Linked DNA regions of Homo sapiens: all the other regions are linked to region 2. Evidence: promoter capture Hi-C in 16 types of primary human blood cells and fetal thymus (Javierre and others, 2016). All regions are on one chromosome and are shown on one strand. The core of a region is centred on a gene start or on the middle of the fragment in contact, and the rest is flanking DNA. Distances in the headings are between cores, read along the strand shown.

Evidence for each region. The method cuts DNA at HindIII sites, captures the fragments that hold promoters and counts their contacts. A CHiCAGO score of 5 or more calls a contact.
Region 1: a fragment that was not itself captured here is called in contact with the fragment with the promoter of MYCBP2 in region 2 in 6 of 17 cell types (naive CD8 T cells, total B cells, total CD8 T cells and 3 more); the score reaches 8.5 in naive CD8 T cells.
Region 3: a contact is called between a fragment that was not itself captured here and the fragment with the promoter of MYCBP2 in region 2, in 1 of 17 cell types (activated CD4 T cells). The highest score is 8.0, in activated CD4 T cells.

What each region holds. Positions count from the first base shown.
Region 1 is chr13:79,387,136-79,389,898 of GRCh38, reverse strand. The region is part of intron 1 of RBM26 (RNA binding motif protein 26); the gene reads left to right. It also overlaps the pseudogene RNA5SP33. Among named protein-coding and RNA genes, the nearest start is that of RBM26, 18 kb to the left of the region's middle. The HindIII fragment of the contact is 2,656 bases long and covers 92-2,747 here.
Region 2 is chr13:77,325,828-77,328,888 of GRCh38, reverse strand. It overlaps MYCBP2 (MYC binding protein 2), which reads left to right and starts at 1,795. Exons shown (of 83, transcript NM_015057.5): 1 at 1,795-2,415. The coding sequence starts at 2,114. It overlaps LOC127898562, which reads left to right and starts at 1,901. Exons shown (of 1, transcript NM_001414702.1): 1 at 1,901-1,984. The coding sequence starts at 1,901. The coding sequence ends at 1,984. It overlaps LOC107984564 (a long non-coding RNA gene), which reads right to left and starts at 1,844. Exons shown (of 2, transcript XR_001749930.2): 1 at 1,754-1,844; 2 at 691-1,625. RefSeq lists an enhancer at 1,316-1,645 and silencers at 1,836-2,215, 2,256-2,375. The HindIII fragment of the contact is 13,146 bases long and covers 591-3,061 here.
Region 3 is chr13:79,490,654-79,493,562 of GRCh38, reverse strand. All of the region lies in intron 1 of NDFIP2 (Nedd4 family interacting protein 2), which reads right to left. Among named protein-coding and RNA genes, the nearest start is that of NDFIP2-AS1, 11 kb to the right of the region's middle. The HindIII fragment of the contact is 2,909 bases long and covers 1-2,844 here.

The DNA of each region.
Region 1 (2,763 bases), core at 170-2,669, 2.1 Mb before region 2:
TCCATAGAATTCCATTATGTGAGTGTATTGCACTTTGTTTAAATAGTGCTTTATTTATGATGTAATTATTACTTTTTAGGGGAAAAAAGCTTATTTTCTTGAATTATTTAAGTACTTCCTGTATGTAGTCAAGGAAAACTTACCAAAAGACTTTGACTTGAAAAGCAAAATCCTCTTTACGTTTCCCATCCTTGAACTTTTACTGTTAATATGTAGTTTTTATGCCGTTACAATGGCTGAAATCCAGTGTTTTTGCATGACCAAATCATCTACGGCCATACCACTCTGAACACCCCTGATCTCATCTAACTTGGAAGGCAAGCAGGATTAGGCTTGGTTAGTACATGGATGAGAGACTATAGTTTATGTAACCATTCTGTTCTTATTTGTCATTTAGGTTGTTTGCTTTTTTCTTTGGCTTTCCAAATAACTATTTTTTTTCCCGTTTCTTTTTTTCTTTAACAACGCAACTAGTACACTGTTTTTGACTTTTTAAATAACTCTGCAATGAACATCTTCCTCTATGTGTATGTTTGCTTTATTCTCATTAGTAGAAGTTATTTTCTAGAAGTCAGCTAATGCTGCTGTTGGAGGCTTTCTTAGTATTAAGTATACTTTCTTGGTTTAAATCTAGTACTTCAGAGGAACTTGTTTTATGATGTTATGTATTGCATTATAAGTAGTTCCTCATTTTGTTTTTTGTTTCAAAGAGCCATTTTAAAAGAAGTTACGGGAGATAGTGTGTCAGTGTAAATTCTAGCCTACTTTTGAGTTCTGTATATCTCTGCTCCATACATTCTGCAATTATTTATTTTCCATTTTACAGGCAATTTAAAAGTTGATAAAAAAATTTATAAAATCTTAAATGAAGTCACTTATAAATGAAAAGTGTTTGAATGATTATAGATTCCACATAGCATTAATATATACTTCAGCCGGTCGTTTATTTGTTGCTCCTTGTAATAGTTATAAATGCAATAACAGGTACTTTGAGGCCTGTAACTTGTGATCTTTTTTGGACATATTTTGTAAGAAATTGTCATTGTGACGTTTCTTATTTGTTACTATTACTTTCTTTAATGATCTCAAGTGCTTATCTTACCTTTTTAAAAAGTTTAATTTTTTATAGTAGCAAGCAGACTGAAATAGGTAGAACTTATTTTTGAAAACTGCTTTATAAACTTGCAGTTACCAGTCTCTAAAGTTGTTAATGCACTTACCTAAATTGAATCATGTTAAGTTTGGATGCCTGTGATGACATTAAACAGCCAAATTGGAGGAACAGTTAAGTTCTGTGAGAATACATGAAGTTTGGAGGAATCGTGAGTATACATTGTGATTAGGAAAAGGCTCTTGAATCCACCTAGCCTCTGTGGGTTTCAGATGTAGAGAAAGTTTTATTGCTATACTGAAGTGATTGGACAATTTTGGAGCTATATTATGAGATGTGGGGAAGGTTAAAACAGGAGTTACTTGATCCAGTCTCTTTTTAAGAATGTTGCTTGCTGGGCGAGGTGGCTCACGCCTATAGTCCCAGCACTTTGGGAGGCCCAAGTGGGTGGATCACCTGAGGTCAGAAGTTCGAGACCAGCCTGGCCACCATGGTGAAACCCCATCTCTACTTAAAATACAAAAATTAGCCAGACGTGGTGGTACATGCCTGTAATCCCAGCTACTGGGGAGGCTGAGGCAGGAGAATTGCTTGAACCCGGGAGGCGGAGGTTGCAGTCAGCTGAGATCGCCACTGCATTCCAGTTTATGGCATGTAGAGGTTTGATTAGATAAAACGTTTTGAAGACAAAGGAAGACTAGTTAGCTATTTCTTAGTCTAGTTTAAGAGTGAGTTGTGAAATGCCTGAATTTAGATTGCTATAATGTTGGTAATTAGAAGCTCCTTCTCAATACATTGTGATTTGTTCTAGGGAAAAGGCAGGCATAGTTATCTGTAATACCAATGGGAGAAACAGTCAAACATACCAGTAGTTGCTATGTAACAGTGGTAGAAACAATGTACAGAAATTATATAGGTCTGGCAATTTAGGAGAAATACACAAAATGTTTCTATTAAGTAGAATTTATTTATGCCTTCTAAGGGCTCAAAATTTGGTCATGAGTGCTGAGGAAATGGGATTCTGTGACTCTTTAGAAAGACATAAAGAAAAAAAATTCTCTTGAAGATTCTAATGCTATGTACTAAATTATTTTGAAATTCAGTTAACTAAAAGTTACTGGAATGGGAAGGGAGAAAGAGCGCAAGGTGGTGAAAGCCAAATATTTTTTCACAAAAATGACCCACTTTTTCAGATCGTATGGTTCAGTGCCTTTTTTTTTTTTTTAAATGAGTAAACTAAAGCCTAGAGAAATAAAATGCTAACGCAGGATTATATAACTAGTGAATAAAGCAGAAATAACACCAGACTGGAAATCTGAAAATTGTTTTTTGGAGTACAGTTCAGTGCTTTTCTTCAATACCAGACTGCTTCATGGAAAGGCTAACAATTTGGCTTGGGACAAAGTAGGTTTGAAAGGTAATATAGGACTTAAAATATAGCAACCAGAATTTAACTAAAGTATATTTTTAGGGGTGATTATAGGCATTTTTTTTTATCATAGTTCATTATTTAGTAATCCCTTAACGATTGTTAGGGTGCTTGGCAGGTTAATAAAGTGTGTCTTATTTGTAATTATATTTATTTGTAATTATTTCTAGTTTGGCAAGTCAGCTGTTAGATGAAAAAACTGAAGCTTAGTTTGCTTAGTCTT
Region 2 (3,061 bases), core at 546-3,045:
TTCATGTGCCAAGTTGGACATCCTAGATCCTTTAAGTCCTCCCTCAATCTCATGTAGTGGGTATTCTTTTGAGCATTATTCAGAGGAGATAATTTGCCCAAAGCCAGACAAGTATTAAGTAGCAGAGTCAGGATCCAATTCCAGGGCTGTCTGATTTCAGAGCCTTTTAGCTACCCTGCTAGGTCTTGCAATAGTAATGGGCCCTCTCATTGCTTACCTGTCAGGCCTTAGAATTCTTAGAATTTAGCTGCCTCTACACCATTGTCTTGGTTCTCACTCCAGGGTTAGGGGCTGCCTGGTCAACACTGAGGTCTTTAACTGTGCTGAAGCATTAGGATAGAAATTTAGTCTAATAAATACTTACTGGATACCTACTACATGCAAAGTCCTGAAGTGGCTGAAGGAGACACAAAAGCAGCAAGCTCTGAAGGAACTTAGGTAAGGAAACAAGACAAATACAAAAACTTAACAGGGCTAATTACAGTACTAAAATACTATGATTCCACATGTCTTGTCCTTTGTTCCTATGTTTATCCCACTGCTAATTATCTTTAAAAAAACTAAATGAAATCCATCCATTATTTAAAGCTTCAGAAAAAAATGCATTGCTTTCAGCAACCTTCCACCCTAAAACTAGAATTAATTTACTTTCCTATTCCTTGTTGTTTGCACTTCTCAAACACTAAGGAGGATTTTTTAACATTTATTTTATTTTTTTTTAAGAGAAGGCCATCCGAAGAAGAGGCACAGATATAAGAACTAGTACATAGATGAAAGATACAGTACTGGGATGACAGAACTTATAAATTATTTTGTCAGGACTGTAAATTAGGAAACTCTTCAAATTGAGAGTCAAAGGATAAAACGTAGTAGGAATCAAAGTGCATTGGCACGTATATTTCTAGAGCATATACTTAGATGGGGTTCGTAGGTTAGCTTGGAACAAAGGACTGAGCAAATGTTACTTTTTTATAGACAACAACAAGATATGTGATGGATCTGACATTTTCAGACGCTATACAGTCTCCGTCACAATTATTGTTTCAGATCGCATTCAAGAATTATCTTTAAAAATGTAAGTTTGGGCAGAAAAAAATAAACCATTAAATGACCACTGCCAAGAGATAAAAGTGCACTCTTAGGTGAGTGAGGAGTCAATAAAAAAGAGTAATTTAAAAAATATTATTGCTCCGTTGAGAACAAGAATTTGGGAATGACTCTGGCTTGTGAATACTAGCCTATCTGTTATACTTTCACACACAAAATACTTTCACACACAAAAAAGAATGTGCTAGATTACTACCTGTCTTTGTAAGTAAAAGCTGTGTTAAACAAGCGTAAATCCTAATGACAAAAACCATATAAAATAAGATCGCTAAAGGCACTTCTAATTGGGATGGTTTTCTCTGCCTTAAACTCTGAATTAACCAGCACAATTCACAGTAAATCTTCCTGTTGGCAGCAGAGCCTTGGAGAAGAGGTAGCAGAAGAGCGTGCCACTCCTCCTCTGGCGATGGGCACGTTCCCCCTTGCTTTCTGGTCCTCGTTCTTCCACCTGGAGGGAACCTGAAGTCGAACGTCAGTAGCTGACAGCCTCCCCAGCACTTTCCTTACTCTTCTTCAAGCTGCCAGTAAAACCCGGAGAAGTGGACTACTTCAGATTCCGCACAACCCAACAGCCCCAAACCCAAAGCCCCGAGGCGGAGGGAGTGGTGGCGGAGAGGGGGTGGGGAGGAAAAGGGGCGGCAGTTACTGAGCATGTGCGAGGAGTGGCGCATGCTCTGTGAGGCCGGCAGCTTCCCATTGCGGGTAGCCCCGGCGGTGGTGGCGGTGGTAGCGGTGGTGGCGGCGGCAGTGGCGGCACCGCCTCCTCCTCACATTCCCGGGGTGGCGGGGTTAGATGAGCGGCCCCAGTAGCGGCGAGGGCGGCGCGGGGGGGAGGAGGAGAAGAAGGAGGAGGAGAAGGAGGTCGCTGTCTTTGTAGTCTCCCTGCTGCGGGAGCCAGAGGCCGCCGCCGGAGCCGTCGTCGTTGGAAAAGGGCTGTGTGTGCGCGCGCGTGTCTGCCCGCCCGGCCCGCGGGGACGAGGCGGCGGCGGCGGCGGCGGCGGCGAGGATGATGATGTGCGCAGCGACTGCCTCCCCCGCCGCCGCCTCCTCGGGGCTCGGCGGGGACGGATTCTACCCAGCCGCCACCTTCTCTTCCTCCCCGGCGCCGGGGGCGCTGTTCATGCCGGTTCCCGACGGCTCCGTGGCTGCTGCGGGGCTGGGGCTGGGGCTACCCGCCGCGGACTCCCGGGGTCACTACCAGCTGCTGCTGTCAGGCCGGGCCCTGGCCGACCGCTACCGGAGGATTTATACCGCTGCGCTCAATGACAGGGACCAGGGGGGCGGCAGCGCTGGACACCCAGCCTCCAGGTGCGTCCCCAGGGTGCCCTTCCTTGCGCCCCATGCCGCCCTTCCTTGCGCCCCATGCCGCGCGTGCACCCGCGTGTGTGTGTGCTTGCGTGTGTGTACCTGCGCATTTATTGAGCTTTCAGTCCGCTCTGGATGTCTGTTGGCAGGAGCACTTATCGAGATAGGAGGGTGCGGTGGCTGCAGTTTCTCGTGTGTGTGTGTGTGTGTGTGTGTGTGTGTGTGTGTGTGTGTGTCTGCCTGCCTATGTGGGGGGATAGTGAGGGGTGGTAGGGGAACCTGTGATGCTGGAAAAGGCGATGGTGCTGGTCGGCTGTGACACGTGTGTGTATCGTTGAGGTAGGAGGTGGCATGGGTAGAGAGGGTAAGAGGATGATACACGAAGAGAATTGCAACAGTGGCAAGGGAAGTGGCGTTTTCAGTGTCTCTGCCGCAATGTTATTTGCACGTGCCGCCTCTCCCATGACATTCCTTCCAGCCCTTTCCACCTCCCTTCAATCTGCCTTTCACCAAGAGGAGTCATGGTATAGATTGGTTGAGTTTTGGATAAGCAGGCCCGAGGGATAGGCGTGAGGTTTGCTTTAAAAAGATTTATGAATAAGGGACGCAGATGGAGATCTGTGTGGATGCGAAAGGTGTCTGATAGAGA
Region 3 (2,909 bases), core at 141-2,640, 2.2 Mb before region 2:
AATGATCATTAAGGACTCCCCTATTTCCACAATATCTGGAAACAATTTCCTTTTCTCTTTTCCATGGGTAGACCAAATAACCTAACCATGGTTACTATCTTGCAAATGCAAGCCACTGGTTACAAGAGGAATTATTCAAAAATACCAGAACTCATCTAAACTGATTCATCAGCACTATTATAAAAGCAAAGGATATACCCTAATTATGAACATCAAGAATATCAACAGTGCATAGGCTGTGCAAAACATTATTACTTTTATAGCACAGAATTCTGTAAAACTACATATCACTTTATAAACATAATAAAATATACCAGTATCGCCATGCACACACTTGGAATCATTCAGAAAAGACATTCATTTATTTCTTTAATAAGTATTTATTTTGCACCTATAACAGGACCAGAACAATGACATAAACTATTATAAACAAGACAGATCTAAGCCCTGCTTCCCACTGAGTTTACAATCTAGTGGGGAAATACACACCATGAAATAAGGGCTATAACAAGGATAAGTGCACACAGTTAAAAGAACACGCAGAACTTGAAAGTAAAGAGCAGGAAATGGAGATGGGGAGGTAAAAGGGAAGGAAAGGTTTTTTGAAGAAAATAACATCTAAATATAGATCTGAATACACAATTGAAATTAGTCCTGGAAGAAGGAGGGAGAAAAGAAAAAATGGGAAAGATATATTTAAAAGCTACAAAGCAAGAGATAGCATGATTTGGGGTGGTGATAGAGAAACAAAAGCATTATAGTTTAAAACATGGCCAAAGTATGCAATGCAGTAACAACGTAGGCAGGGATGAGGTATGCAGGTGCTCCTGTTGTTCTCTAAAGGTTAAAAACAAATACTTAAAAGGGCCTTAAGTGTGGCCAGGAACAGTGGCTCATGTCAGTAATCCCAGCACTTTGGGAAGCCAAGGCAGAAAAATGATTTGAGAACAGACTGGGCAACATAGTAAGACTCTATCTCTAAAAAAGAAAAAATTCAGCCAAGCGTGGTGATGCATGCCTGTAGTCTCAACTACTTGGGAGGCTGAGGGGGAAGACCGCTTGAACTCAGAAGGTTAGGGCTGCAGTGCTGTGATCCACCAGACTGCACTCCAGCCTGGGTGACACAGCGAGACTCTGCCTCAAAAAAAACAAAACTCTCAAGTGTTATTTCAAGACTCTTCCCTTTTGACAGAAATCACACAAAAAGTCATCTGATATAGATGAAAGCTCTCCCGAGGTGAGGAGAACAAATGTTCTACAAAAGCTGTCACTTTGAACACTTATAAAGAAAGGAAAAAAAAAAAAAAAAAGGTGTCACTACTGGATTTCCTCAGTCCAATATCCAAAAGGCTATATGTCCTAAGACCCCCAAAATTAGTAAAGGGGTTAATACCATCACATTAGAAGATTCTTTTACAAAATGAAATCCAGTTCACTCCCTTATTCTCAAAACCTCTGTCCAAATAGCACAATTTCTTTACATAATGTTATGAGTAATTCTGGAGAAACATCATAGATGAACTAAACCACAGCACATTCCTGAACTTTTAAAATATTAAACTGTACATGTTCAAACAAATCTTAAAAGCAAGCAAGTCAAAACCCTGAAATAATCTGACAGTAAATCTTAGACTACTGCAGCATTTCCCAACTTGCATTTGGCACGTCTTTAACAAGAATTTTACCCACACCCTAATTCCAGCTAAGTGATCAAACATCTGAAAGAAACCATAACAACATGGCCCGAAAACAGAGACATACGATGATTTACAATTGCATAGCCTTAATTACAGTGATCTTGTCAGTAAATTTACATTGACTAAACGTCAGTAGAAGATTCCATACCATTCCACAGTTAATTAAACTCAAGTCAGGCCTACATATATAGAATACATACAAAATCCTAAAATAACATATTGCGAATACACATACAATTGAGCAATGTTTTAGAATGAAGGTCAGATATTAAGAAAATAGTAAGAAGAAAATAGTTGCCAAGTAATCAATATAAAAAAGATAAGGAAAATCAAACCAGTATTCACAACTCCGCAGTTTATGAAGGTGATAAGCAGGGCCACTGCATATGGCTTCATGGGCTACTTATTGAACAACTCTAAAGGACACCATTCAGAGAGAGAGACAGAGGAAGACTAAGCAATATATTTCAAGCTGGAAGAGAATGCAAAGAAACAACCACCACCATCACCCCCACCTTAAAGAGCCCAGGTCTCAGTAGCAGAAACAGAATAAATATAAAAAGGAATAAAATAACATAGGCAAGGTTTTATGTCTATAAAATTGGCCTTGAACTAGCACCATTCATTCATCTTTATCAAATACTGAAAGTCTACCATATGGCAGGTATGGAAAGATATATACAGTAGTGAGCAAAACAGACAAAAATCTCTCTACCACCATGAGGCTTAAATTCAGGGAGAAAGAAGGGAGGTAGGAAATAAATAAGCAAAATATTTGGAATACCAGAAGATGATAAGTACTCTGGATAAAAACAAACAGGAAACAGCGATAAGGAGTACTGTGAATGGGATATAGTGATTTAAAATAAGGTAGTCAAGAATGACCTCAATGAGGCAATCACACTAACAGAATGAAGATTCTACCATATTTGAATAAGCTGTTTTTGACACTCTCACAGGGAGTATTATATTCTCTTCTACTATCCACTCATATCCATCCCAATTCTAGGACAGACTAGGTGCTTGGCTGATTATCAGGTGCAAGTAAGGGATGCAAAACAACCTCACCACATTGTTAGGAATTTATTTAGAGACTGGGTGAAATAAAAAATTAATTTCTTAGAAGCGTCCTTCAACATGCCAAGCTTCAGGCCTATATGAGGTACATTCCTATAACATCTACATTGGGGTGGGCAAACTAGAGCAAGCAGG